Regions from separate parts of the Homo sapiens genome. Here regions 2, 3, 4, 5, 6 and 7 are each linked to region 1. Evidence: promoter capture Hi-C in 16 types of primary human blood cells and fetal thymus (Javierre and others, 2016). All regions are on one chromosome and are shown on one strand. The core of a region is centred on a gene start or on the middle of the fragment in contact, and the rest is flanking DNA. Distances in the headings are between cores, read along the strand shown. Region 1 holds the start of FEM1C (fem-1 homolog C). Region 2 holds the start of TMEM232 (transmembrane protein 232). Region 3 holds the start of STARD4 (StAR related lipid transfer domain containing 4). Region 4 overlaps STARD4-AS1 (STARD4 antisense RNA 1). Region 5 overlaps HSD17B4 (hydroxysteroid 17-beta dehydrogenase 4). Region 6 overlaps NREP (neuronal regeneration related protein). Region 7 has its middle 36 kb from the start of TNFAIP8.

What was found. The method cuts DNA at HindIII sites, captures the fragments that hold promoters and counts their contacts. A CHiCAGO score of 5 or more calls a contact.
Region 2: a contact is called between a fragment that was not itself captured here and the fragment with the promoter of FEM1C in region 1, in 1 of 17 cell types (naive CD4 T cells). The highest score is 5.7, in naive CD4 T cells.
Region 3: a fragment that was not itself captured here is called in contact with the fragment with the promoter of FEM1C in region 1 in 4 of 17 cell types (non-activated CD4 T cells, total CD4 T cells, total CD8 T cells and 1 more); the score reaches 9.9 in non-activated CD4 T cells.
Region 4: a fragment that was not itself captured here is called in contact with the fragment with the promoter of FEM1C in region 1 in 2 of 17 cell types (naive B cells and activated CD4 T cells); the score reaches 7.0 in naive B cells.
Region 5: a fragment that was not itself captured here is called in contact with the fragment with the promoter of FEM1C in region 1 in 1 of 17 cell types (total CD4 T cells); the score reaches 5.2 in total CD4 T cells.
Region 6: a fragment that was not itself captured here is called in contact with the fragment with the promoter of FEM1C in region 1 in 1 of 17 cell types (fetal thymus); the score reaches 5.2 in fetal thymus.
Region 7: a fragment that was not itself captured here is called in contact with the fragment with the promoter of FEM1C in region 1 in 1 of 17 cell types (M0 macrophages); the score reaches 5.4 in M0 macrophages.

What each region holds. Positions count from the first base shown.
Region 1 is chr5:115,542,845-115,546,876 of GRCh38, forward strand. It overlaps FEM1C (fem-1 homolog C), which reads right to left and starts at 1,931. Exons shown (of 3, transcript NM_020177.3): 1 at 1,679-1,931; 2 at 106-839. The coding sequence starts at 649. RefSeq lists enhancers at 1,480-2,246, 1,788-2,082 and silencers at 1,512-1,681, 1,732-1,781, 1,882-2,221. The HindIII fragment of the contact is 1,787 bases long and covers 1,119-2,905 here.
Region 2 is chr5:110,725,245-110,729,276 of GRCh38, forward strand. It overlaps TMEM232 (transmembrane protein 232), which reads right to left and starts at 1,427. Exons shown (of 14, transcript NM_001039763.4): 1 at 1,383-1,427. The HindIII fragment of the contact is 2,095 bases long and covers 1,131-3,225 here.
Region 3 is chr5:111,508,765-111,512,796 of GRCh38, forward strand. It overlaps STARD4 (StAR related lipid transfer domain containing 4), which reads right to left and starts at 3,771. Exons shown (of 6, transcript NM_139164.3): 1 at 3,621-3,771. It overlaps STARD4-AS1 (STARD4 antisense RNA 1), which reads left to right and starts at 3,462. Exons shown (of 7, transcript NR_040093.1): 1 at 3,462-3,744. RefSeq lists enhancers at 420-539, 3,406-3,615 and a silencer at 3,646-4,015. The HindIII fragment of the contact is 1,073 bases long and covers 1,213-2,285 here.
Region 4 is chr5:111,527,023-111,531,054 of GRCh38, forward strand. All of the region lies in intron 1 of STARD4-AS1 (STARD4 antisense RNA 1), which reads left to right. Among named protein-coding and RNA genes, the nearest start is that of STARD4, 17 kb to the left of the region's middle. RefSeq lists enhancers at 3,022-4,032, 3,470-3,519. The HindIII fragment of the contact is 5,472 bases long and covers 1-4,032 here.
Region 5 is chr5:119,458,349-119,462,380 of GRCh38, forward strand. All of the region lies in intron 2 of HSD17B4 (hydroxysteroid 17-beta dehydrogenase 4), which reads left to right. Among named protein-coding and RNA genes, the nearest start is that of HSD17B4, 7.9 kb to the left of the region's middle. RefSeq lists an enhancer at 426-1,078 and a silencer at 3,224-3,441. The HindIII fragment of the contact is 3,959 bases long and covers 379-4,032 here.
Region 6 is chr5:111,740,791-111,744,822 of GRCh38, forward strand. The region is part of intron 2 of NREP (neuronal regeneration related protein); the gene reads right to left. Among named protein-coding and RNA genes, the nearest start is that of NREP, 14 kb to the right of the region's middle. The HindIII fragment of the contact is 839 bases long and covers 1,475-2,313 here.
Region 7 is chr5:119,318,218-119,322,249 of GRCh38, forward strand. It overlaps a transcript of TNFAIP8 not described here. Among named protein-coding and RNA genes, the nearest start is that of TNFAIP8, 36 kb to the right of the region's middle. RefSeq lists an enhancer at 104-363. The HindIII fragment of the contact is 8,252 bases long and covers 1-4,032 here.

The DNA.
Region 1 (4,032 bases), core at 681-3,180:
AGGTCTGTCAATGCTGGTTTACTCAACACCAGTGCTTATAATGATGTATCAAACTTCCTGAAAATAAGTGGTAGACATTTAGAAAAACAAAGAAGCTGAACTCACCTTTGACACTTTTTCTATTAACATCTGCCCCCTTTTCAAGTAAATACTGAGCAATCTCTTTATGTCCTTTGTAACATGAAATCATCAAGCACGTATGCCCATGTCGGTTTGACACTTCCAAATCAGCTTTGTGTTCTACAAGGTACTTCACTATTTCCAAATGGCCATCGAAACACGCAGCTCGAAGAGGAGTTGAATTGGTTAAAGTCGTGTTGTTGACAGATGCTCCATGATTTAACAAGGACTGGACCACCTTCAGATGTCCTGCTGCAGAAGCGGCCCATAAAGGGGGAGCCCCCTCAATGGTTTCGCCATCAAAATTGACGGAGCCCCCAACTTCTATGGAGGCACTGCATTGCTCTAGGAGGAATTCCACCATGTCAAGGTGCCCATACCTGGCGGCCATCAAGAGTGGCGTGGCCCCATTTGTTTTTTCAGAGATCAAGGAGGAAACCTCCTCTTTGGATTTGCTTGCCAACAATTTGGTGAGAAGCCGGAGTTTGCCATCCCGAGCTGCGTTAAATACTGCTGTCTTTAGATCCATTTATGTCCAGTTGAGAGGCTGTGCTTTATTTATCTTTCAAAGCAGAGCTCCAGTTTAACTCTATCGACACAGGCAAGAGTCACAGGAACCAAAGTCCAATGTTAATTGCTGCACCCCAGAACGGATACACAACCACGAAGAGTATGTTCCGTCCTACTGCTTTCCAACATCTGACAACCAGGGCACCAAACTAGAGAAAGAAAAAAAAAGTAGCAGCATTTAATTTTCTATAGAAGAAGGCAAAACACTTCTTAATTTCCACTTCTGTGGGAAGAAAGGAATAAAAGCTATACTTCAGGCACTACTCCATCCCACACACCCCCCCCACCCCCAAAGAAAAGGTGGTAAAGAAAAATACAGAAGGATACACAGAGACCCAAATGTTCTGGTCGCAGGCAGTCTCCTCCATGTGCGGAAAATTTAAACACTACAGGCAGCCCGTTTTCTCGCCTCCAGCTCTAACCAGCCAAGCTTTGTTCTAGTTTTGCTTTGCACACGCCCAGGGAGAGTACAACCGAAAGAGGCAGGAGACTCGGGTTCAGAAATGTTTCTCTTTCTTGCAACTGCAGGAGAGCTGGCCAAGGGCGCCAGGCTGGAAGGCCTGAGGCCGGGTTTCGAGAAAGAACAAAAAGGTCGGACACACCAAACCCCGGCTAAGGCCAAAACTGTGCCCCGAAAGATTCTCTTTCCTTTAAAACTACTCACGGCTCTCAGGAAATCCGCCTGCCTTTTAGTCATTAACTTCGCCCGCCCCATTTCGATCACCCCCCACCCCCCGCCAAGGGATGATCCGCAGGTTCCTCAAACCACAGTCGCCCCAACACAACCTTCCCCTCTCCCTGTTCCAGACAACGGCAGCCCCCTCCCAATCTCCTCCATCGACCACAACCCCCTCCCGATGGGCCAAGCTGTGGCCTCCAGCCCGCTGCCCGCCTTCGGCTCCCCCGGCGCCCTCCTTCCCGCCCAGGCCTTCCGCGGGCACCTCAGGCCCCGGCCCGAGCCCTGGCAGGCCGCTGCCGCCGCCACTACCTGCCCGGGGACTAGTCCTCCCCGCCGCCGCTGGTCACTCGGGCTTTGTCCGTCCCCTTCAAAGGGAAACCGTTGTCCCCACCGCCGCCCGGGCCGCCCTGCTCCGCCTGCGGCCGCACAGCTCCTCCATGCTCCGCGCCCCAAAGGAATGAATCCGGCCGCGCTGTTCGCCACGCCCCGCCACCCGAGCTGCCTCCCGCCCTTAGTCGGCTCGGACTGCAGCGGCTGCAGCGACTGCTGCGACGGATGGTGTAATGGGCTGCGAGCCGGGGGCCGGACAAGCCTGAGCGTCACATCACTGACTGTGCCGCCACGCCATTGGGCCGGGGGAGGGCGGCGGCCGCGGCCAGCAACAGCCTAGGCGCGGGGCGGGGCGTCGCGGCCGGGGTGGGGCGACGGGGAGGGGGCGGGGCCTGAACTACTGGGAGGACGTGCCTGCGTGCAACGCGCTGGGGGGCGGGGCGCTGCGAGGGGGCGGATCTGTGCCCATCGAAGCGGCCCGAGGCAGCTCGAGTTCTGAGATCTCGCTGGCTCTTCTCCTCTCGGATTTTCGGGGTGCTCCCTTAGGGAATCTTTCGGTCCCATCTCAGAGACCCCAGAAGGGAAGTGTATTAGTGCGTTTTCACGCTGCTGATAAAGACATACCCGAGATTGGGTAATTTATAAAGATAAAAAGATTTAATGCACTCAGAGTTCCACGTGGCTGGGGAGGCCTCACAATCAAGCCAGAAGGGGAAAGGCACGTCTTACATGGCAGCAGGCAAGAGAGGAAAATCAGAGCCAAGGAAAAAGGGAAACCCCATATAAAACAATCAGCTCTCCTGAGACGTACTCACTACCACCAGAGCAGCATGGGGGAAACAGCCTTCTTGATTCAATTATCTCCCACTAGGTCCCTCCCACAATATGTGGGAATCATGGGAGCTAAAATTCAAATTTGGGTGCGGACCAGTATTACCCTCACACACGTGAAGTCTCTCGGACTAGTCTTCCGTCCTTACTTTGGTGGGCCCTGGAAATTACCAAGCTCGTAATTACACCTCAGAACACACACGGAGGAAACTGAAATTTCAGAAAATGTGATTAGTTTTGGAGGCTGTCAAACTGACTCTCTTTCTAAAGTAGCCTCTAAAAAGCATAAAGGCTACGAGGAATGGTAAACCCTAAGAGCAATGTAAAGTCAATGAGGTCAGGTTCTTGAGCTCTGAGTAATAAATCGGGAACTAAAGCTTAAAAGGTTATATATATGAATGAAAAGAATTACTTCTTCATATAGTAGTTGATAAACCTCTGGAATTTGATGCTAAAACCTACGTTGCATTAAACTAGGATGAAAAAGTTTAAATGTGTTTGGGAAATAACGCCCATAATGAATCCTGATGAGAAAACAGAATTTTTGAAAATGGACCTTCAATCACTTTGTTTGAGGGAACTTAAGCTCACATAATTCCTTAGTACCACTAGGAGAAATAGAATATTACAGTAGGCAGTCTGACCCTCAGCATATGTAATCCATAACGTTATGTTAGAAGTCATGCAGCACTAAAAACATTTATAAAAAATCACAACTTCATTTTTGTATATTGTAGTGTTGTTCAGAAGTTTATGTAGTTTTGCATAATTGAAATAATTTTCATACAACTATATATTTTGCTTTTCCTTTCTATACTCTAAACGTTTCTTATGTTTTTACAGTCTTAATAATTTTTAAGTATAGCATAGTATTTCCCTTAGGTAGTCAGTATCAGACTACACTCAACATCAGATTCCCAAAACTGAAGTTAAGGTAATTGCCACTGAGAAGAAAATATAAAAGAATAGAGTATAAAGGATAAGATTGACCATCCATAAAAATTAACCAGCCAAGAGGACTGGCTGTTTTATCCCCAGCATATGTCACAGTTCTATACTCTCCCAGGGTACAGATAACAGTGTACAGTGTCCCAACCAAGGCCTAACCTGAGCTGACCTGTCTCTCTCACCTAATTCAATAAGATGTAAACATTCACATCAGCCATCTTCAAACTGAGCTCTGTATCCCTCATGGGATTGTTAAGGGATAGACGGACACTTAGTTTAAAGGCTACCAATTTCTGCTGTGGCTCACACCTGTAATCCCAGAACTTTCGGAGGCTGAGACAGGCAGATTGCTTGAACCCAAGAGGTCGAGACCAGCCTGGACAACATGGTGAAATCCCAACTCCACACACACGCACACACACATGCACGCACACGCACACACACACAAAAAATTAGTCAGGCATGGCATGCAGGAGGCTGAGGTGGCAGGATCACCTGAGCTGAGCTGGGGAGATCAAGGCTATAGTGAGCCATGATCACACCACTGTGCTGCA
Region 2 (4,032 bases), core at 928-3,427, 4.8 Mb before region 1:
ATACTAAGATTTCTCAGTGTTAATATTCTCATATATACTCTACATCTCTCTGAGTAGCAGTGTGACATGTAGTACTTTAAAATTTATTGACTAAAGAAATCTTTAGAACATCATCTCCTAGAACTACATACAGGACACATTTTGGAAAATGTTAAGCATTTGTGAGCAGACACTTTACCAGGAGCTCTGGATGGACAATGAACTTCAAGACAGGAACATTTATCAAATTTATCATAACAATGAATGATTCTGATAATGAATCAGACGTTCAGCAAGAATATAGCACTACTCATTAAGATCATAAGGGTCCATGCAGAATAGGTCTTAGTGAAATAAAAATCTGCTACCTTCAATCAAGTATGTATGTGGATTACCCAAACCAAGAATGTTTATACTTTAAAGAGAAATGTTTCAGCTCATGAAATGGCTCCAGCAGTCTGCCTGGGTGCTTGGCAGTTCATCTGCAACCTGGCACAGACCCAGATTTCTTTTTTTAGTTTTACTATTAATTCTTCATGTATTTTTTTAAAGTTCCAATAAAAATGAGGTTGAAACTGTATACTTTAAAAGACAATTTCTGAAAAACAGATAATATTAAAATTATATCAAGACTTTGGAAAGGTAACATGCATTAGAGAATATAAGATTTAGACTCTAACCTGAGGAAGCAAATTATTTGACCAACCAAATGATAGAATTTGTTCAGACATACTGTTAAGATGGTAAGGTAAATAAGAGACTCTTACTACAGTCTTATCCCCTCCTAGAAATTTTTCTAATAGACAACTTGGATATTTTTCTCAAGATTAACGGCTTTTAAAAATTGTTTTATTACACATCTCCAATATACCCCCCTCTCTCTTTCACACACACACACACACACACACACACACACAGAGCGCCAAATTTTTGAACCTTCTCTTTTGAAGTCCAAGAGTCTTCATACTAAATAAATAATAAATAAATAAAAATCAAAAAGGTGCAATTTCACCAACCACAGAGGATGTGTGAAGACTGGTCTTCTGAATTCAAGGTTGCCCCAGGATAAGCGAGTCCAGGGGAGATTAAATGAATTTCCCTATTCATAGCAATAAGAAAGTTCCCACCTCCTTTATTCTCCCCAACAAAAAAGCTTCCCCTATCAAACGACCTGGTGGCTTTTCCAGGATGGACTGCTTAGACTCTTAGGAGGGGCCCAGATAGCAGGCCCAGCCTGGGGTTGCGAGTAGTGTTTCTTCTAACAAAGCTATGGCACCCTGAGAAAGGAGGCTCAGTATTCCCCTGTGAGGATCTTTGTGGGTCTTTCAGTTGCCCTAGGATGGTGAATATGACAATAACCTGAGCTCCCAAATCATCTGAAGCAGGACCTCTTAATCACTCACCGCTGCGCTCTGAGCCGCTGGGAACCAAGGCTGGTTGCTAAGGACGCTGTGGGAGTCGCTCTGAGACAGACGTTGCTCTTTTACGGTCTCGTGACCAGGGCTTAGCCAATCAGGACTTATAAGTGAATTTCCACCTGCCCTGTCCCGTCTCCACCACATTTGTGTTCAATTTCTAAAGAATAAATGCAATGTTGTGTGAAAGACCTTTATTCGTTTTTAAAGAACATAGTAATGATTTGTTTCGAATATTGTACATACTTGCATATCCTGCAAGAAGCCACGGCAAGAAGCGGCTTCACAGTGCTTTAATGTCTCCTCAGTGTCTTAATGCTGCTTCCCCAAAACAAACCAGCACGCCTATCATACCAAAAGTAGCTATGTCTTTAAATTAAATTGCCGTTCGTAAGTTCCTTTTACATAGAAAATTTGGAGCAGTCAGTGTCCTCAGCACCCGTCAGTGAGTAAACAAAGCACCTAGAATGTTCTGCTATGTACTAAACACCAGAGGGCGAATTTAAACACAAAAGAACGCCTCTTTTTAAAGGTAGTATGCAATAGAATTATCTAATATAAGTCCTTTAAAAATCCTTGTAGAATTCCTATGTCTACTAACGAGCAACTGTATATATTTTACAAAGGTTCACCAGTGTAAAATACTATATGGAAGAATGGGGAAGGGCATTTATGATTAAATTCATACGTAGGCCGGGCGCAGTGGCTCATGCCTGTTATCCCAGCACTTTGGGAGGCCAAGGTGGGCGGATCACGAGGTCAGGAGTTCGAGACCATCCTGGCTAACATGGTGAAACCCGTCTCTACTAAAAATACAAAAGTTAGCCAGGCGTGGTGGCACCCACCTATAATCCCAGCTACTCAGGAGGCTGAGGCAGGAGAATTGCTTGAACCCAGGAGATGGAGGTTGCAGTGAGCCGAGATCATGCCACTGCACCCCAGCCTGGGAAACAGAGCGAGATTCCATCTAAAGAAAAAAAAAATACTAAAACGTAATATACAGGGATTGTCCTGTGAAATGACCTGCCTTTAAAAATTAGAACTTTGAAAGAAAATTTAACTTGAACTACTTCGATTCGGAATTAAGTTTTTTTGTTTTTTGAGTGCATTTTTATGTTTAAAACAGAAATTACAATATGTGATCTCAGGCTTCTCTGACGTATCACTCCTAGAAGATCAGTAAGTTAAAGGTAATAATGAAAAGTGAAATTGACAAAGACTATAAACTACATATGTGAGAGAACAAATCCTAGAATATCAACAGTGCTTACCATAATCCAGATAAAATAAAAATGAAAAGACTGTGGTATTTAATAATAGCCTGGGGGCTTGCTTGTTTTAATTTCAAGAGATCTAGAAAAGTGTTAAAAGCATAAAAAAATACAAACTGTTAACCAGGTTATTCATAATCAAATGAAGATTGAATTAAAAAGGAATAAAAGGAAGGCCGAATAAAAAATTCTTCTCCATAATATAAGAATCAGTTGAAACTATAGCATGTTTAGAGAAAAAAAGTCACCCCATCGATTCTACAGTGAAGACAACAGAACAAGTTTATATAAGGAAGAATTCACAAATACATATATATATATATTACACATATCTACTTATTCTAAATATATCTACTGATTTTATATATGTATCTACTGATTTTATTTATATATATATCAGTAGAATGAAAGATTACAGAAAAAGCATAAAATTTATATATGATAAATTTGCCATTTTAACTCAGTGGGGAAAAACTGTACAGAGGCTGAGCACAATTTGAAAGAAAATAAATCTGAACTACTATCTCATACCATAGCAACAATAAATCTCAGAGGAATGAAGCTTAAAACAGGAAATAATTTTAAATAATTTTAAGATAATATTGGTATAACCTTAGAGTCACAATAATATTAAGCTAATAGGAGACCCACAATGATTTTAAAAAATGACAAGAATATTTAGAAAATTTATGTAAGAAAAATAAATCTAATAAAGTCATACCTCCCCTTTCTCCCTTTAATTAGTCATCTACATTGAAGTTTTGACAAGACAAATCTAATTTTTTCAAATTATTATATATATACCTATATATATATAATCCTAAAATGGCCATTAATTAGCAATTAGGAAAATAAGCATGTCAAAACCATCCTAACCCCTTAGTATGGCACAATTATGCTTTCAGAAACTATATCATTGCCTACTTGCCCAGTTTTTTTCTGCTTTTTTTTTTTTTACCAGTCTTTTTTATTTTATTTTATTATTATTTTTTGAGATGAAGTCTCGCTTTTGTCCCCCAGGCTGGAGTGCAATGGAGCGATCTCAGCTCATTGCAACCTCCACCTCCTGGGTTCAAGCGATTCTCCTGCCTCAGCCTCCCGAGTACCTGGGATTACAGGCGCCTGCCACCACGCCTGGGTAATTTTTGTATTTTTGGTAGAGACAGGGTTTCACCATGTTGGCCAGGCTGATCTCGAACTCCTGACCTCAGGTAATCCACCCACCTTGGCATCCCAAAGTGCTGGGATTAAAGGCGTGAGCCACCGTGCCTGGCCCAGTCTTCTTTATTTTTAAAACTTTTTCCACTGCTATGTAATCAATTAAAAAATATTTTAAGTTTCCTAAACATATCATGAGCTCTCGTTTC
Region 3 (4,032 bases), core at 499-2,998, 4.0 Mb before region 1:
ATGTAGGTCCTTTAAAATAGTCTCACTAATTATTCTGTTGTCTAGCCAGAGATCAGAACTAACTGATCTAAAAATTAAAGTGACAGAAATAAATTAAGGTTGTAGCCAATATTTAAATACCACTAATTAGAGCATATAAGCCATTAAAATTTATAAATACTAAAATTATGTAGAAACATGGGAAAGTATACAAAGAAAATTCAATATAACTTTTAGGATCTATGTAAGTGATGCAAAATATATAATAAGTATAGATCCAATCCACGGATGAAAAGTTGATGAGCTCATTCAAAAAGTCTCTCAGTCAAGAATATACCTAATTTCCATTCAAGAGGCTGTCAACTTGATAGCCAGTTCAATAACTTTATTCAAGAGTATGCCACAAACAAGCAGAAGTTCTTGCAGAAGGCTTGTAAAAGAGATTTAATTTATCTATTACAGGGATCACTATGATTAAACATATTCTTTAAACCCAAAGGTCACCTGCTAGGTTCCTGTGGTTGGCAGATAAGAGTATTTATGCAAAACTTTTTGATAGAAATCAAAGGTGAAACAGAAAGTTATTATTATCATAAGCAAACATTATCACTGGGCAAATCCAGTGCACGGAAAGTTACCTAGAAAGCTAGCTACCTAGAAGAGATGAGAATCTGCAACTTTAAGGTACTTGACTTAGTAATTCATACTGATCAGTATAAAGTTCAAGCTCCTTACTATAGCTTACAGGCCCTTTTATAATGTGGCATATTTTCATTACCTAATTTCCACTTATCTTTCCTGGATTCCCCTGAACCTGGGTTAGTTCCCCCTCCAATATTTTCTGACAGCAACTCTGTACTGTAATTATTCACTTGTTATCTTCTCCCGTTTAACTGTAAAATCTTTGGGGGGTAGGAAATCTGGCTTGTTCAATATTAATTCTCCTTACGTCTAGCACTCAGTAGGAACACAGTGAATAAAAAATGGAAAAATGTATAGACAATAAGCTACCATTCTCACTTATGGAAGACCTCAAGATATCTAAAGTATGCCCATTTACGCCAATCCTAGAGCTTCTGAATAACTAAAACTTCCTTTACCATAATGAAACACCATTTCTCAAGAAGGACTACTATTAAATATTTATCAAGCATCTATTATATACCAGGTCCTAGAACTACAGAAACAGATGGAATTCAGATTTTACTCTCAAATTGACTTATTCCACCCTTAAGCTTTAACAGAAATAACAACAACAAAAACTAAAACATTAAAAAATTCTATTAATAGCCTTTTTAAGAGTGGTGCAGTGGGAGGTAGGAAAGGAAGAGAAAGAAGTACAAAATCAGAAAGCTCTCTCTGATTAAATATGTCCAGCAATGTATTTAACCAAACAGTTAAGTCTTGCATGGATTATTTTCATCAAGATTAAGTCCATAATGAAATAATCATTGCCATCAAAACTGCTACCTCTGTGTAAACAGGCATAATTGAGCATTTCTCAAAATATTAATATATTCTAGAACCAAGAGGGTTGGGGGAGATGGGTTATCAAGGTCTTGGCTCTCTCTCCTAATATAACAGGGTACTGACATTAATTGAGAGGAAAACACCTAATTTGCCCTCCTGCAATCTCCAACTGTGGAGAATGTCAGGTAAATGTTTTAAATGCCATTCTGAACCCATTCTGAACTTCCTTTTACTAATTCAGTCTTTTATTCCCTTATCTTGACCTTATATCAGGAAATTATCCAACTCTAACATTTACACGTCAGAGAGAACAGGCACCACTTAACCTTATCAGAATATAATAGGTTCATATAAAAGATTTTATACTCTTGTCAGTCCCATGGCCAAATGCTGAGTAATGTCCACCTCCATGTTTTTCCTTTAATCTTTTTGTTCATGTTTTCTATGCCCATGCTTTTGAAGCTATCACTAGTGGTGATAGTGGCTGCCATCATAGGGAGGGCAGCTGTCTCAAGTTACTTTTCTTGAGGCCATCTATCAGCACCATAGTCTTGACCAATCCAACTCCAATTATTCTCAAATATCTGTCACAGTGAGATGGCATAGGTTCTATTTTAAATATGGAACATAATAAAACATTTAACCTGTAATGTAAAGTGAATGCCATAAAAATCTGTTTGGACTTTTGTAGTACGACTAGGTCAGAATTCACTTGTTAAAGAAATGCAGGTATCAGAACGGTCTAACCTTGCATTACTTGATTAATATGGTTTTCACTTCCGTCAACAGCTTCAGTTTAACATGCCATGGACTTTCCCCAATGTCATACAAACCAAAGCTTTGTAAATTAAATTATATTTTCTAACTAACATAAAAATTTCAGCATATGCTTGATTTCCAATCAATGTTGAACTGTTAAGTTTTCTAACTCAGACAAGTACAGCAGCTTCTCATTTTTTGAGACTGGCTCTGGCAGGAGCTCACTATTTAAAGAAATGCAACATGGAAGTATATTTCTACAATATGAATAGTGAGCCAACTTACTGTTCAAACCCCTAATGCTCTAATACTTGATTAAAAAAAAAACCTAATGCTCTGTACTTGATTTTAAAAAATAACAATAACATTTATTGATCACTTACTACATGGTCAGTCCTTCTGGCTGCTTTACATTGCATTTATTTTATTTAATCCTCACAACAGTAATAGTCCTCCTTGAGAAAATGTGTTTCATTATGGTAAAGGAATTTTAGTTATTCAGAAGCTCTAGGATTGGTGTAAATGGGCATACTTTAGATATCTTGAGGTCTTCCATAAGTGAGAATAGTAGCTTAATGTCTATACATTTTCCCTGTTTTACAGAAAGGGAAAATAGCAACAGGAAGGTTGAGTCACTTGTCCAAGATCACACAGTTCATAAGTGATGGAGCCAGAATTCCAACCCAGGGCGTCTGACTTCAGAGCCTAAAGCTCTCTCTTGTAAAACTGTGGAAGCTGATCACAGGCTGGAAAAGACTTCATATAAAAAACCTGGGCCCACCAAATATTTGTCAAGTTTTGTCCTGGCTGCTGAACCTAAAAATCTAAGGTAATCTTTCTCAAGTGTAAATTCGGGAAAACAATGACACTGATTTGGTGAGAAATTATTTGAGTTAATACATTTAGCAGGGACCTTGGAAGGCAGTAAGCCCTGGGAAAACTTTGTCTCTTGTCTTTGGCATCACCTCCGCGAAGCCTGGTGGGACGCGGCTGCCCCTGCGCTGTCTGTGCACCTCCTAAGAACCAGGAAGCGCGGTGACCTCCAAAGAACAGGACTGTCCCAAATCAAGCGGGATTACCACCGCCCCTCTCCCATTTAACAGCTGAGGACACTGAGGTCTAATGGATTCCAAGTACTTAAATAGGTGAGCGGCGCGCAGGGGCGAGTTGCAAGCCCTGGGATCCTTCCAGCTCGCCGCTTCCCCTCCCAGGGGCTCAGGTTTCTCTTTCATCTGTGAGGTCCTCTCCCGCCCGGACGCCGGGGCCCGCCATCCCCAACGTCCACCGCGAGCTCCCCAGATCCATGGTCTGGAGCAGGTCCAGAAGACGCACCTGGCAGGACGCCCCGGGCGCCACAGTCGCCCTCCACACGGGCCACCCCAATCCTGCCGCGGCTCCGTGGCTCTCCTTACCTTTACCTGAGGTGAAGCAAGGACGTGGAAGCAGCTACGGCGCGCTACCAAGCACCTCACACCGCTCTCAACAGTACTGCTCAGCCTCCCGGCCCGCCGATGCGCAGGCGACAGCAGCCAACTTGTAAGTCACCGCTGGTCGCAGCCAACTGGAAGGCACCCAGCGCCTCAGGGCAAGGCGGGCCGAGCCCCCAGCCCCGCCCCCTGGCCCGATCCCGGGGGCTCCGGGGAGGGGGGGCTGAGAGGAGGTGGCCGGAACAACGTGCGCTTGTTCGGATTGGCTGGCGCGGGAGCGTGTGGAGGGCTGATTGGTGGCCGATAAATGGAATGATTCCGCGTGGGTGTGGGCTGGCCCGAGCCGCGCCAGGGTTCCCTGGATGTCTGGGGTTGCCTGCAGGTTTGGATTGGTTGG
Region 4 (4,032 bases), core at 773-3,272, 4.0 Mb before region 1:
ACCTAATAATTCAAAAGGACAAAACATTTTGAGACTAAGAGAATTCCTTGAAAAGTAATGTGAATTATATAAATCTTGCTCTTCCTTATATATAATTGCTTTAGAAAATATTTTCCTTGGCTTCCTTTTATCATCTGTGATGAAACCTCTTTTGAGTAATTAGAAAACATTACTGCTTGACAAATAAGCACAAATGCTGAGAAAATAGGTATTTTAAAGATAAATGTGAAGATTCAATTTTATCTAGAAATGCTACTACTTTAAAGATAGAAATTGATTTTAATTCTCCCAAAATCAGTGGCTAAGTGTGATAGATTCTTCCATTTTACTATTTCTTCCATCCATTCTGACATCTCCATTCATCTGCTGCTACCACAGCCTCATTTTTAAGCATTATATTACAATCCTAATGGTATGGAACAGATTTTGCTACTTCCAGTCCTTCTCAGCCCAAATCCGTCTTCTATAGTAGTTCCTGACTAATTTTCCTAAATCATTGTTTCCGTGAGGCCAATCCTCTCCCACAGACTAATGATCTACAGTGTAGTTTATTAAAAGCATTATGGAAACTTGCCTCAAGTTAGAAAGAGCTTAGATGTCCAACAATAGAGTATTGTTAATATAATTTGGGGTATCAATAAAGTAAAATTATATACAGTCGTTAAGAATATGTTATAGAAAAAATATTGATCTGAAGAAAATATTTGCAAATTATTGAATATAAACATGAAACAAGGCATGTAACAGTATATATAAATTCTAGAGAAGGAACTATATACTCTTTGATTCAAAACTTTTGTTTCTGAGACTTTTAAGAAAATAAAAAAGAAAGGGTAAAAAGAACCCAAGTTCATCTTCATCTAAGAATTGTTTTTAGTAGCATAAAAATTAGAAACTGCAAGTCCAAAAATACGTGATTAAATTTCCATTTCCAATCAAGAAGCCTGACAAAAGACATTCAAAGTATATTATCTGACCACAATAGAATTAAATTAGAAATCAGTAAAGTAATCTGGACAAAACTCAAATATTTAGAAAGAAAATTACACACTGCTAAATAACCCATGAGTCAAAAAAGAAATAAACAAAAAATTAAGATTTTTAAAAACTGAATGAAAATAAAAAAGACATATGAAAATCTATTGTTTACGACTAAGGCAGTAATCATAAGGAAATTTTTGCTCTAAATATCTAAATTAAAAAAGAAGAAGTCTCAAGTCAATGACATCAGCTTCCACCTTAAGAAAAAAGAATTTCAAGTTCCTTAAAAGATACAAACTATTCTACTAAGCTCATTCATGAAGAAATAGATAACCTGAAGAGCACTATATCAATGAATGAAATTAAATTTAGAGCTTTAAAACTTTCCACGAAAATTCCATTTTCAGATGTCTTCACTGGTGAATTCTATGAAACATTTAAGGACGAAATAATAGCCTTGCAACCCAAACTCTTCCAGAAAATTGAAGTCTTCCCAACTCATTCCACGAGGCCAGCATTATTACATTAAAGCCAGAAAAAGATATTATAAGAAAACTACAGAACGTTATTCCTCACGAACGGAGAGACAACAATTCTTACCAAATTATAACAAATAAAATAATAAACAATTTATTAAAAGGATAATACATCATGACCAAGTCGGGTTTATCTCAGGGATGCAAGGTTAATTTAACATTTGAAAAACAATCAATGTAATTCACCATGTTGACAGACTGGGGAAAAAAAAAAAAGAGATGACGAAAAAGCATTTGACAAATGCCCAAAATCTAATCCCAATAAAAACAGTCAGCAAAATAGGAATAAAAGGAACAACCCCAACCTGATCAAGGGCATCTACGAAACTGTACTGTTAGCGTCTTATTAATGATGAAAGATGAAATGTTTTCCCCTAATATGAGGAAACAGGCAAGGATGTCTACTCTCTCCCTTCTATTCAACATTGTCCTGGAGGCTTTAGCCAGTCCAGCCAGTCAAGAAAAAGAAATAAGAGATATCCAGATTGGACATAAGAAAATAAAATTTTCTTTATCCACAGATGAAACGATCATCTACCTAGAAAACCCTATGGAATTTATATATATGTATTACATCTAATAAGTGAGTTTAACAAAGTTGGGAGATGCAAGATCAATATAAAAAATCAAGTCTGTTTCTATATACTAGGTACATACATACATACATAATTAAAATTAACATAATACCATTTATACTGGCATAAAAACATGCCATTAAATATGCATATTAGGGATAAATATGAAAAAAATGAACATGGCCTGTATATTGCAAACTAGCAAACATAATGAGAGAAATTAAAGTCTAAGTAAATAGAGATAAATGGCATGTGTTTGGATAAACATGACTAAAATATCAATTCTCCCTATTTGATCTACAGATATAATGAAATCCCAATTAAAATCTCAGCAGGCTCATCTGTAGATGTTGACAGCTAACTCTAAAATTCATGTGGAAATGCAAAGGGCATAGAATAGCCAAAACAACTTTTAAAAAGAAGAACTAAGTTATCTAACTTTTACTTCCTGTCTTCACATCTTGGTATAAAGTTACATTGATCAAAATTATGATATTCAATCAAGATAGACAAATAGGTCAATGAAATAGCCCAGCAATAGACCTATACTTACATAATTAACTGATTTTCAACAAAGACATAAAGGCAATTTAAAAATATGAGATCGTATAAATTATTTTGTATAGGATGCAGGTATTAAATTTTGCTATAAAAATGCACATGTCAACATATCGAGATTTTCCTGATATATTAAGAGAAGAGTATAGGGTCTTAAACAGTAGGTAAATTATTATTCTATTTTTTAACGGGATCTATATTTTTTCAAAAGGATGCATATATACACATACACATATACAATAAAAATAATAGTAAGAGCCTAGAATTTTTATAATTTTAGTTTTGCTTTTAGTGTTTTTGCTTCTATTTTGTTATTTATTTATAATAGACATGTACTATAATAAATGACAAAACCGAAACATTAAAATACTCTATAATTATTATATAAAATACAGTAAATATTGTTTTGGGGGAAAATTTATGTGTGTGGTATGAAGACTGAAAGATATATTCCAAATATTAACAAAGAGAGAGTTACAGATAGTCTTTTAGCTTTGTGTCTTCCTTGGTTTCCAAATATTTCACAGTGGGCACACTTGCTTTGAAAAATTATAAAGGCTATAAATATCATTTTTAAACTCTCAATAGTTCCATATAACCGTTGAGCTAAAGATCTAACTTCTTCATCTGACATGAAGATCGTACATGAACAACATGGCCCAATCTGACCTTCCTGCCTTTCCTCTGTCCCCACGCGAGTGCCCCCATTCTCCGCCTCATCACATCCTTCTGCTGACTCACCCACACTTCCTCTCCTCACTCCATTGCATTGCTGCCTCCACCCATCCTGCCGTCCGCTCGTACTTGGGCTGTGCTTCCCCCTCTGTGTCTGCCCACGTCACACCAACCTTTGAAGTCAAGTTCCTGCTGTCTGAAATTCTTCTGAGAAATGCCTTTATCAAGTTCCATCTCTAAATTCCTAGGGTTCTTCTGTCTCTCCCACGTGTTTGAAACCTAACCATATATGAGTTAAAGTATAAGCAAGTTTGAGATTGCAGGAGAGCCTATTTGATTCCACTGCCGTAATTGTACTTGATGTACATATTTACCCTATGCTAAAGAGGCTTAAGATTCTAGAACTGGATTGTTGGATCTTAAATCTTGGCTTTATAGAAAAGAACAAGATCATGTCTTTGCGGGAACATGGGTGGAGCTGGAGACCATTATCTTTAGCAAACTAATGCAGGAACAGAAAACCAAATACCACACGTTCTTACTTATAAGCTAAATGATACAAACCCATGGATACAAAAAGAAAGGAACAACAGACACTGGGGCCTACTTGAGGGTGAAGGTTGGGAGGAGGGAGAGGAACAGAAAAAATAACTATTGGATACCGGGCATAGTACCTGGCTGATGAAATAATCTGTACAACAAACCCC
Region 5 (4,032 bases), core at 1,108-3,607, 3.9 Mb after region 1:
TTTTTTTTTTTTTGAGATGGAGTCTTGCTCTGTTGCCCAGGCTGGAGTGCAGTGGCGTGATCTTGGCTCACTGCAACGTCTGCCTCCGGGTTCAAGCAGTTCTCTGCCTTAGCCTCCCAAGTAGCTGGGATTACAGGCGCCTGCCACCAAGCCTGGCTAATTTTTTTTTTTTTTTTTTTAAGTAAAGATGCGGTTTCACCATCTTGGCCAGGCTGGTCTTGAACTCCTGACCTCTTTTTAGAAGTGGCATGTCACTTCTACCGACATTTCATTGGCCAAAGGAAATCATTTGGCTAAGCCAAAAGTTAGGGGCATCATTTAAGATAGTCTCCAATTTTGTGTTAATATGATTGCTATGTTTTATATTCCATAATATAAAGCTTATGGGATATTTAAATTTGGTATAAGAACTGCTAAGCCTTAGGCTGATACTGTAAAAAGGGACATTTGCTTTTGTGTAAATTACATCTTTCAGGAAATGCTTGTGCATTTCTTAAGTAGGTTATTGGGAATTCAGTAGTTTTGAGGTTTCCTCAGTAGGTGAGCTATATCTAGTTCTCTGAATAGTAAGTTTTATTTTGAGGACATAAACACAAGAAGGACTGACAAAAAGGAGCAAAAAGAACTCCTTAGTAAAAGAAAGGGAGTTCTACTCTTGAACTGAAGTAACACCTTTGGGTAAATTGAATTACAATCTTTTTAAGTAAGATTGACATGACTTTTCCGTGCTACAGTTACATAATAATGGTAAAGCTGAGTCTTAACTTCCTGTGGCCTGATGCTAGAGCCATTGTTTTTAACCCCTATGGGATCTTGACAGCTGGAAGGTGAACTGTAGTGGGCAAGGTGCATTGCCTTTGAAGTCAGGCCAAGTTTTAAATCCTGGCTCTGCTGCCTAATTATATGACCTCTCTGTTTATAGCTGTCTTAGCTAACTTCCGGGATTATGGTGAGGGTAAATGACAAAAAATTAAAGACTTTCGGAAAGGGAAGAGAAAGGAACCAATATCAGTCCCTGCTTACCATATATGACTCACTCTGCTCAAGAACTGGATATATCAAAGTGAAGGTCTTGTTGACTGAGGTCTTGTTGACTCAAGGCACATCCTAGCCCCCTTATACATGTTTCTCCTAGATGCTTAAAGGAAAAGCTCTGTGTCTTAGTCTGTTTTCTGTTGCTTATAACAGAACACTTAAAACCGGGTAATGTATTTTAAAAAAGGAATTTATTTCTTATAGTTATGTAGGCTGAGTAGGCCAGTGCTGAGGGGCTACATCTGGTGAGGAGGGCCTCCTTTCTGGTGGGGACTCTGTAGAGTCCCGAGATGGCACAGGGCGTCACAGGGCAAGAGGCTGAGTGTGCTGGCTCTCGTCTCTTTTCCTCTTCTTATAAAGCCACTAGTCTCACTCCCATGATAACCTGTTAATTCATTACCCGATTAATCTATTAGTCCATGAATAGATTAATGCATTTATAAGGGCAGAGCCCTCACAATTCAATCACTTTTTAAAGGCCCCACATCTCTTTTTTTTTTTTTTTGAGAGGGAGTCTCCCTCTTTTGCCCAGGCCGGACTGCAGTGGCGCTATCTCGGCTCACTGCAAGCTCCACCTCCCGGGTTCACGCCATTCTCCTGCCTCAGCCTCCTAAGTAGCTGGGACTACAGGTGCCTGCCACCGTGCCCAGCTAATTTTTTTTTTTGTATTTTTAGTAGAGATGGAGTTTCACTGTGTTAGCCAGGATGGTCTCGATCTCCTGACCTCGTGATCCGCCCGCCTCGGCCTCCCAAAGTGCAGGGATTACAGGTGTGAGCCACTGTGCCCGGCCAAGGCCCCACATCTCTATACTGTCACATCAGGGATTAAATTTCAATGTGAGTTTTGGAGGGGCTAAATATTTAAACCATCCCAGGCTGCTTTAGGCACTGATACACTCTCCGCAACGGTAAGTATAGTACTTAGTAATCAAGAATATATACTGATTGAATAAGTGAAACTGATATAATACAGGGAGAAAGATCATAAGAAGGCACATGTGAATTCCAGCTGATAATAAATGAGCCGTACATGAAATACCCACATCTCCCTTGGATACCTCCATGACTATCACCAATCTGGATTATGGGGGAAAACCTTTGAATAAATTTAGAGTAGCTCTTAGCTATTTGTCATTTTAAGAGCTAGAGTAGTTCTTAGCAAGTCGTTATTTTGTCATTTGCCAGTTTTAAAAAAAGTAATAAGGTTAATAGACTTAACATCAAATAGATTCATTTATTCATCTAACATGTATTTATTAAGCGTCTATTATGTAGCAAACACTGTTCTAGATGCCAGAGGAATATAGTGGGAATAAAACAGAGTCCCTACTTTCATGGTGCATATATTCTAGTGGGGAGTAGTGGAGGGACAGATAATCAAGAAATACATATGTAAAAATATAATAGATGTAGGTGCTGTGGAGAAAAAAATGAGTGAATGGAACAGAAAATGCTTTAAGGAGAGACTGCAGGAAGTGAAGGAGTGCGCCTTGAGGAGATCTGCTGTCGCGGCATCCCTGGCAGAAGAAGCAGCTGAAGCCAGGTTACTGAGGCTGCAGCAGGCATGGTATGTTTTAGGGTTAGGAAGGGAGCCAGTGTGGTTATATAGCGAGCAAGGTCATAAGGGAGACAAAAGTGAGAGATGAGGGCAGAGGGGTCCTAGAAGGCCAGATCACATAGGACCTTTAGTTCAGAGTAAGGACTAACTTTTACCCTGAGATGGGGTAAAAAGCAATGTACATAATAGTCATCAAGTAATATTGATGCTCAGATATGAACTTTATTTCTCTCTCAACATTTCAGTAAAGGAATTTATGATTCATATCTTATGTAACAAAGAATTAAGATCTTTTATAAATAAAGGACATTTACAAATCTATAAGCAAGTATCCCAAATAAAATGTGAACTAAATAGGCAAAACAATAATAAATATAAATATAAGCCATGAAAATAAAATATTACTTTACTAGTGCTCAAAAAAATGTAGACTAAAATAATGAGCTACAAATTATAATCATGTAATTGTCAGACTGAAGGCAATGATAATAACCAATGTTGTGAGAATGTGGGGTAACAGGCATTCTCACAAACACGTGGTTCTATTTTCAGGCTATTGATGCCTGATAATTTGGTACCTTGTACTTAGTTATCTATTTACCTACTTATAGAATACTTTTTATCGGATCTAAGTGTGTTTTAGAATTCCTTGGATCCTGGCTGGGTGCAGTGGCTCACGCCTGTAATCCCAACAGTTTGGGAGGCTGAGGCAGGAGGATTGCTTGAGGCCATGAGTTTAAGACCAGCCTGGGCAACATAGCAAGGCCCGCTGTCTTTGCCAAAAAAAAAAAAAAAAAGCCACGTGTGGTGGTGCATGCCTGTAGTCTTAGCTACTCAGGAGGCTGAGGCAGGAGGATGGTTTGAGCCTGGGAGTTTGAGACTTCAATGAGCTATCATTGTGTCACTGCACTCAGCCTGGGTGACAGTGATACCCTGTCTCAAGAAAAAACGAAAAGGATTTCCCAATATTCGTACATTCCCAATATAGCACGTATTTGACAAAATTTTGGGAATGCTTTTTAGGAAAAATCTTCTGTAGTTAATAGACTGTCCGAGTCACTGATTTATTTAAAATGACAGAAACAAGGAAAAGATTTATGTTAAAAAAAACCCTCCAGGGTTATGAACTAGATTTTATATGGAAAATGTACAAATGTATCACACTTTGGAACATTTTGATAGTTTCAGCTGAAAAGACTTGACCCTTGACTATCATAGTCTTACCATTTTTTGCTACCTATTTGAAAGCTATTTGAGTTGGGTGGTTGATTTATCTTTTGCTTCATATCCTCCCCCAACAAATGTGATTTTTTTTTTTTTTTTTTTTTTTTTTTTTTTTTTTGCTTAGTGGAACTAATGATCTTTTTAGGGTAAAAGAAACTTGCTTAACACATTTGAGGAGCAGAGTGGTACTGTAGTAGGTCCAATTTCTAGTGTAA
Region 6 (4,032 bases), core at 644-3,143, 3.8 Mb before region 1:
CATGTTTCCTATCACTTCTACTACATTGCAGGTAAAATTTGAATCATATCTACTTATTACCTGTTTCTAAATTTGTATTTTCCTCTGTTCATTTACTGTCTTTATCAATATTTCTTTGGGGAGACTGTTCTATGAGAATGATACTTAAAGGCAGGATTATATCTTTTTGCAGAGGCTAAATACACCACACACATAAATACTGCTTACTTCATTAGTTAACATACATTTTCAGAAATCTGCCATGAAGATATGTTGCATGGTTTGGTTGTTAACGACCATAACTGTAATGTTATTCTTTATCCCTGATGGGGTCCTATAGGGTTAAAGAATGCACACACGGGTCCTTTATAACTTAACAGGATGGGTATGCGTATCTGTCTCCTGCAATTAGGAAAGCCGACTAGGGCAGCACGGGTCCAACCTGTATAATCAATTCTTTCTGCAGCAAAGGGGTATATTTCATAATCTTTCTGCCAATTAAATAGTATGTGTCTGCATGTGTACATGTTTTATTCTGCCTAACTAGCCAGGAGGTTGTGAAACCTAGTACTGTAATTCAAGGAGAATTCATGCGCATATACATACACTTCCTTTCTGCAAAAACCCTTTGAGGTGGTGCTATAAAGAATCTCCCTCAAAAGCCACTCTGTTCCCAGGTGTTACTGGTCATATGAGAGGGCCAAATGTAAACTGAAACCATAAATGAGCTACAAGGATCATTTTCTCTGAACAACATTACATCAAAGATTAGATGGTGCCAAAAGATGATGCACTGTGCTGTCTCTCTAGAGACGTAGTCTTAGAGATCTGCCTAACCTTGTGAATGCTGCTTGGAGAAGAAGCACACAGTGGGGAAAACACGTTGCCACTGGAAGACAAAAAGGTAAGCCTGCAGAACACTGGGCCATTCAGATGATGTACGTAACCTCTGCACATTCTGGAAAGCAGAATAAAAGTGCTGGGGCTTAGGTTGGCAAGCATTCTGGCTTGGGGGCTAAACGAAACATGCACTGACCTAATTTAAACACACACATACACACACACACACACACACACACACACACACACACACTGGAGCTGGCTGTGGTAACAATGGGTAATTACAGAGTATGCATTATGAACACCCAACTACTGCACTCTAGACTCATAAATGCCCTCCTGCTAGAAAGGAAAGGAAGGCCTTTGTGGCACCTGCTGACACTCCTTGAGTTTCATTGCCTGGTAAGTCCTTAACATGTACAAATAGAGGTTGGGGGAGACAACTGTGTTTCAATAAGGAAGACAATGATGGCTCACTAATTGGTTAAACCCATTGGCATTAGCTTCGCTTCGGGTGTGTATTCCCACTACGGGCACAGAAAGCGTTCATATTTTATTAATATTATGCCACAGATGATGTTACTGTCCAACATTACATGTCAGGAAGGCAAAAGATTTACAATTCTTGATCTTATGAGTTGGGGTGTCTGAAACAAGCTTTGCAGACTTTAATAGTGGAATCCTCTAAATTCACTCTGCTCATCGTGAAGCCATCTTGAGAGGCCACTGATGAATATGTGGGAACCTGACAGCTGTGGAATTTTATTTCTAGACTTTAACTAGGCACAGAAAGGAAAAGGAAATCTCCTTGCTGGCAACAAAATGAAAGTGTTTACATGTGAAATTAATCGTCAGCACAAAGAGCTTTCACAGTCACTCTGTTCCACAATGTAATATTCTGCTTGTTTGGCTGCTGAGTGTTTTAAAATTTCATTTCTAAGAATAATAGCAAAGACTTTCAAGGGGGGCAAGAAATCAGGTCAGGAGCCAGCCACAAAAGGTTAACAGAATTACCCGACTTTTCTTTTTCACCACGACTTAAAACCATTCATTACGTGAGTTTTCTGGGCTTTGATGGTACATGGTTCAAGGCCAGGTGCAGCAACAGCCAGCTAATTCAAGCATAGTGAACACGGAGGTCAGCTGCAAACATTTACGTTGTGCAACATCGTGTTCCTCTCATTCCAGCCCCATTCCTTTCCAATAAGAGCACATTTAGCACAAAGCAATCCACCTAAAGACTCCATAAATCCAAAAAAGGGAGTCACTGATCGAGGAATTCTCAGATTTCTGCCAAGGCACCCTCCCTTGGACTGGAGGTCAGCCTGGTACAGTAATCGGAGCCAAACTGTGGACTGGACTCAAGGAATTAAGTTCAGCACTTCAAATCTTGACTTTTAATGGGCAATTTTTCTTTTCAGCAATGAAGAGAAAACAAAGTACAAATGGCTGGTAACAGCCCAAAGTAAACCAGGAGAAAAAGCACAAGAATAAAGCTTGGATACAAATCTTATAAGTAATATCTAAGAGCCTTTCCAAACAATGGGAAAAAAATAAAGCAGCCTTTTTAAAACTTGGTTTGAGATTATGCAGTTGTGAGTGAACAATAATAAAGCAAAGGCCACAATACAAGATAGTTGCTCTCTTTAGTGAAGAAAAAAAAAAAAATCAGCCTTTGTTAGCTTGCAGCAAAAAGGCCCCTCAGGCATTTAAGCACTGCATAAGCTTTTCTTTGCCCCTGTGACCTCAAGAAATATATTAATTCAAGAAATATGTTAATAAAATCTTTTACCTCCCTGGAGTGGAACCAGAATAAATATTTACTTAACACATCTGAGTTCTAAGTCTGGCCCACCTTATTCCATTATATAAATTGGTTTTAATTTGTAACTAAGAAATTAGGAATATGACATCTTGTGATGTTTCTCCGACTTTTAAGATATATTAAGAATTTAAAAAGAAAGAACAAACTTGAATACTAATTCTATATTATGCCCCAGCACACCAAACTGCACTTGTGAATTTTAGAATGGTATTATTCACCACAATTGAGAGTAAAAGCTGTTGATATGCTTTCTAATACTAGACATCTGGAGTAGCAGGGCTTTTTCCAAGCACATTCCAAGGTTAATAGGAAACATCTAGACTTGCTTTTATTAGCTGGTTTGAATAATTTTAAGTTTGCTATGCCGAGTTTCACCTTCAAATAACTATATGAAGTTTAATTTCTAGTCACCAAGAATGCTATGTTTTCTTTCCTTCTGTCCAAAAATTACTGTGCTATCCACTAAAATCTTATGAAAATTTTCCCCCAACAACATGAAAGAATAATTATTCAAAAATACGATTTCTTTTGTTAAAGCCTTCAGTTAAGGGCTGATGAGGTAAGTATTTATTTAGACATAGGATTTTGGATTTTTCTTGGTCTGGGTGGATGAGATAGTTAGTTGCTTTGAAGAGTCTGAAGCGATTTCAAAGCATTCCTCTTGTTGACATGTGCAAGACAGAGCTTTCCAGAAAGTCTGCATTTTCCCCCGAAGTGCTCATTCCAAAAGAAACTATTCACTCTTTCCATCAATGTATCCTCTTCTACTGGTAGCTGCAAACCCTTCAGCATTTAGCTAAAGTTATTTCACAATTCAATGCTTGTCTTGCACTGTCCTGGTCATTTAAAAACTGGTATCTCTTCAATAGCAAATAGTATCATAACAGACCACTAAATTTGGAGGGAAAGTGGTTTCTATTGCAGATGGATGTAATTAAAATTGGTGTAAATCACAGGGTACAGAATTCTTATCTGGTAAGAATTCTGACTTTTTTTTAAAGAAGAAAAAATATATCCAGATCTGTATCCACATGCTATTTAAATGCTCAGGACAAAAAGAAGCCACTAAGAGGCTTCTAAGAAAACTGTCAGAAAACTAAAAGTACAAGAGGAATGGAATAGGGTTAGAATGGATATGCCCCTGCACACCACCTGGGTTTTCAACCCCTCTGGGTGGAGCCAAGTCTGATTAAGTAGAGGGCTTCTCTCTGATGAGGGATTCAGTCCGGCAGTACCATGTGAGGCAGAGAAGACTGAAGGGAGGAGCTCCCAACCCAAACAGATGTGTTTCAGGGCTAGTTGTCACCCAAGAAACACAGGCTTCAAGAGTTGTGAAAATCCAAACTAGAGGCTTAAGTTCCCTAGAAAAAGAATCATCGGTAGTTTAA
Region 7 (4,032 bases), core at 389-2,888, 3.8 Mb after region 1:
CAGTTTGTCCCTTTAAACGGGGATTTCAAGTGGTACCTTTAGTGCTCTATATCAGCCTTTTGTTCTAGAATGGATTTCTTTTTGAGACAGGTCTCCCTCTGTTAGCCAGGCTGGAGTCTGGAGTGCAGTAATGTGATCACAGCTCACTGCAGCCTTGACCTCCTGGGCTCCAGCAATCCTCCCACGTCAGCTTCCTGTGTCGCTGGGACTATATGCATGTGCCATCATGCTTGGCTAATTTTTTTTATTTTTTATTTTTGTAGAGACGGGGTTCCCCTATGTTGCCCAGGCTGGTCTTGAACTCCTTGACTCAAGTGAACCTCGTGCTTCAGTCTCCCAAAATGCTGAGATTACAGACATGAGCCACTGTGCCTAGCCTAGAACTAAATTGATGTACATATGAATCTGGAGTGATACCTGTTATAGTTTTTCAGTTTTTTTTCTTCCTCCCCCCGCATCCTCCTGCCCCCTCCCCTCTCCTGTCCCTCTTCCTGCCCCTCCTCCCCTTCCTCCTCACCATCTCATGAACCCTTGACTCCAGCGTAATGCAGTTTATTAATTCAGAAAACATTTCAGAACCTACCATGTGCATTTTGCATTAATTACTATACTGGTTTTAAAAATTGTTTTAGCCTATTATAGGGTTATTTGAGACACTAAGCCAGTACTCTTACGTGTTTGGGTCCCTTTCACTTCCAGTGGTTGGAATGTTTTAAAATAAGACTAGAAGAATAACAGCTCATATGATATTTGGCATGAATACTCCTTCAGTTTTGGAACAACATACCTGTTTCTTCATTGAATATTAGCAGTGACTCCATAATTCAAGGGATACTTTAATTGTAGTCTAATCCTGGCTTTTGTAACTGTGCTTTTAACTTAATTTATAATTGCATTAAAAGTATTCTTGGCCAGGTGTGGTGGCTGACACCTATAATTCCAGCACTTTGGGAGGTGAAGGCGGGAGAGTCACTTGAACCCAGGAGTTCAAGGCTGCAGTGAGCTGTGATGGCACTACTACACTTCAGCCTGGGCAATGAAGTGAGACCCTGTCCCTGAAATAAGATAAGATGAAATAAAATAATCCGTTTGGATATGTAAACATTTAGGTTTTTCTTCTGGCTTTGGAGTTTGTATTCCAACATGAGGTTTCGAGAAAATAATCAGTTAATACTGTAGAGACCCTTTCCTAAAAACTTGATTTAATGAGAACATTCCAACGTGTGCTTAATAACACGGCAGCTGTTGATGGTCAAATTTTCTCCTATCTGAGAGTCTGAGTGAATGTGCATATGTTGAGTGTGTGGTGTGTATGCGTACACACATGTTGTGGGAGAGTTCTCTGCTAGAATTGGGGAACAAGATGGAGAGAGAGATAATTAAATGAGTGCTTAAGGATTGAGTGGATTAAGTCCAACTAGCCTGGAACCTCTCTGGTTTCTTGGTAACCAGGATTATTATGGGTTATTTCTATGTATATTGGTGCACCTTTTATTCTATTATGCTTGACAGTACCTTCTTTATGTTAAAGAACGCCGAGGTGGATTTGTAGCCCATGTCTAGATATTTTCTAGAATAGAATCTGTTTGTCCATACATGTGAAAAGAACTGGCTTGGTTTAGGAAGTACATAATTAACAAGGTGGGACAGGAGTTACTAGTTTTCGTTTGTTTGAAAGATGTGAAAGAGGGATTAGACATGTTCTGTGTATCCCGAAGGCACAGCACCAGAACCAGTGGATTGAAGCACAGGAAAACAGATTTCTGTTCAGTTCAAGGAGTGTCCGAAGAGATCATGAACCATGGGTTGGTGGTGGGGTGGATGGAGTGTAGAAATTGCCTTTCAGTGGAGGTTGTCAAGACGACTACTGGGAGGGGACACAGGGGATTCAAGTAGTGGACTGGGAGTAGACATTGGACTAGATGATTTTTAAGGTTGATTTCAATCTAGCGACTGTGATTTTTAGGACATATTACATCTCCCGGAAAATGAAAAATGAAGATACATCTGGCAGTTGGGGAATTTCAGATTCATTGGTTCAGGGTCCCTAAAGGCTTTTTCTCTCCAACTTCTTCAAGTCCTCCTGCAATTATATTCTTTCTCTTGCACATCAATTTCTTTCCAGTTATGGAAACATCCCTATCACCATCAGAACATGCCTTTTTATCACCCTTCTTAAAAAACAAGTTAAAGAAATTTCTCTATTCAATGTAGCCTTCCAGCTCTATGGCACTTCTCTCCTGCCCATTCTGGCAGAACTGCTAGAAGACTTGTCTCCTGGGGTGTGTACAATCTCCCCTTCCTGCTGCCCCTCCCCACTCCACTACTCCTCAAAAACCCTTTCTGTTAAGGTCACCAAAGACCTCCATTTTAACAAATCCCATGGCCTGTTCTAGTCCTCATCTTTTTCAGTCTCTCAGTAGTAGTTGGCATCATCCATCCCGGCCCCCTTCTTTTTCTTTTTGTAGTATGACCTTGTAACCACCCCCACCCCCTCACTTCCCTTTGAAGCACTGTCCTGACTTGACTTCCAGGGCATCACATCCCCTTTTTTTCTCCTACCTGAATAACTGTTCTCTCCAAGGGCCTCTACAGATGGAATTGCCCCAGGGCTTAGTCCTTGACTTTCTTCTTCATACTACACTGTCTCTAGGGTTCTTAACCTGCTAAAAAAAAAACAAAAAACGAAAAACAAAAAACTAAAAAAGACTAGACTTGGCTGGGCACGGTGGCTCATGCCTGTAATCCCAACACTCCGGGAGGCCGAGGTGGGCGGATCACAAGGTCAGGAGATTGAGGCCATCCTGTTTAACACGGTGAAACCCCGTCTCTACTAAAAACACAAAAAAACTAGGCGGGCGTGGTGGCCGGTGCCTGTAGTCCCAGCTACTCAGGAGGCTGAGGCAGGAGAATGGTGTGCACCCGGGAGGCGGAGCTTGCAGTGAGCCGAGATCGAGCCACTGCACTCCAGCCTGGGCAACACCGTGAGACTCCATCTCAAAAAAAAGACTAGACTTGGATACCAAGTCTAGTTAATTGAGAACCTTTGGGGAAGACTTGTGGGCATCAGTTTTTGTTTTGTTTTGGTTTGAATTGGTTTTTTTTGTTCATATTTTGTTACTGGGTATACCAGCATACAGCCAAGATTGAGAATCTGGATGATTTCTAGTCCTGGAGGATAAATACAATACTAATAACTTCCAAATTAATGTATTTAACACATTTTTCCCAAACTCCAGATGTGATTATTCTGTTGTCTGTTTTACATTTCCACTAGAAATAGGCATCTTGATTGCATGCCCTTTACCCCACACTGGCTCCTTCCTGGGTTTGCCTTTCGTGCATGCAGCTCTCAGGCCACAAGCCCAGGAGGCATCCTGATTCCTCTGTTCACTCATCACACAGCTCACCTGGCAGCAAGTTCTTTCCACTTGCCCTAGCAAATACGCACATCCTAAATCTCACTGCTTCTCCCACCATCACTTCTCTTCTGGGTAGCCTCAGAAGCCTCCTAACTCCCCTGTGCTCTTGCACTGTCACTCTCAGACAGTCCTTGTGCAATGAGAATGGTCTTATCGCTGATCACAGTCATTCCCTTGCTCCAACCCCCCACGGCTTTCCATTCCAACGGACAAACTCCCCACTCCTTACCAGGAGCTACAGGCTCCCCTTCATGTGGCCTCTGCCCAATTCTGCTACCTAATTTCCTCCCACTCCCTCCTTCCCTGCCTCAGTCAGGCCACACTGACCACCATGCTGTTCCTCAAACTTCCCAAGCTCTTTCCTCCTACTTCAGAGCCTTTGCACACACCCCTCCCTCTGCCTGGAAGCCCCTTCCCTATAGATTGTTCCTTGGCTCTCTCTCTAATTTTTCTCAGGTTTCTGCTCAGATGTTACCCCAGGAGAAAGCCTATCCAAAATGCTCCTCTCTCCCACCCACTCTCTAGCCCCTGCCTCTGGTTTGTTTTTTCCCTCCACAGCGTTTATCTCCACTCAAAATCCTGTTTTTCCAGCTATTTTGTTAGAACTTTT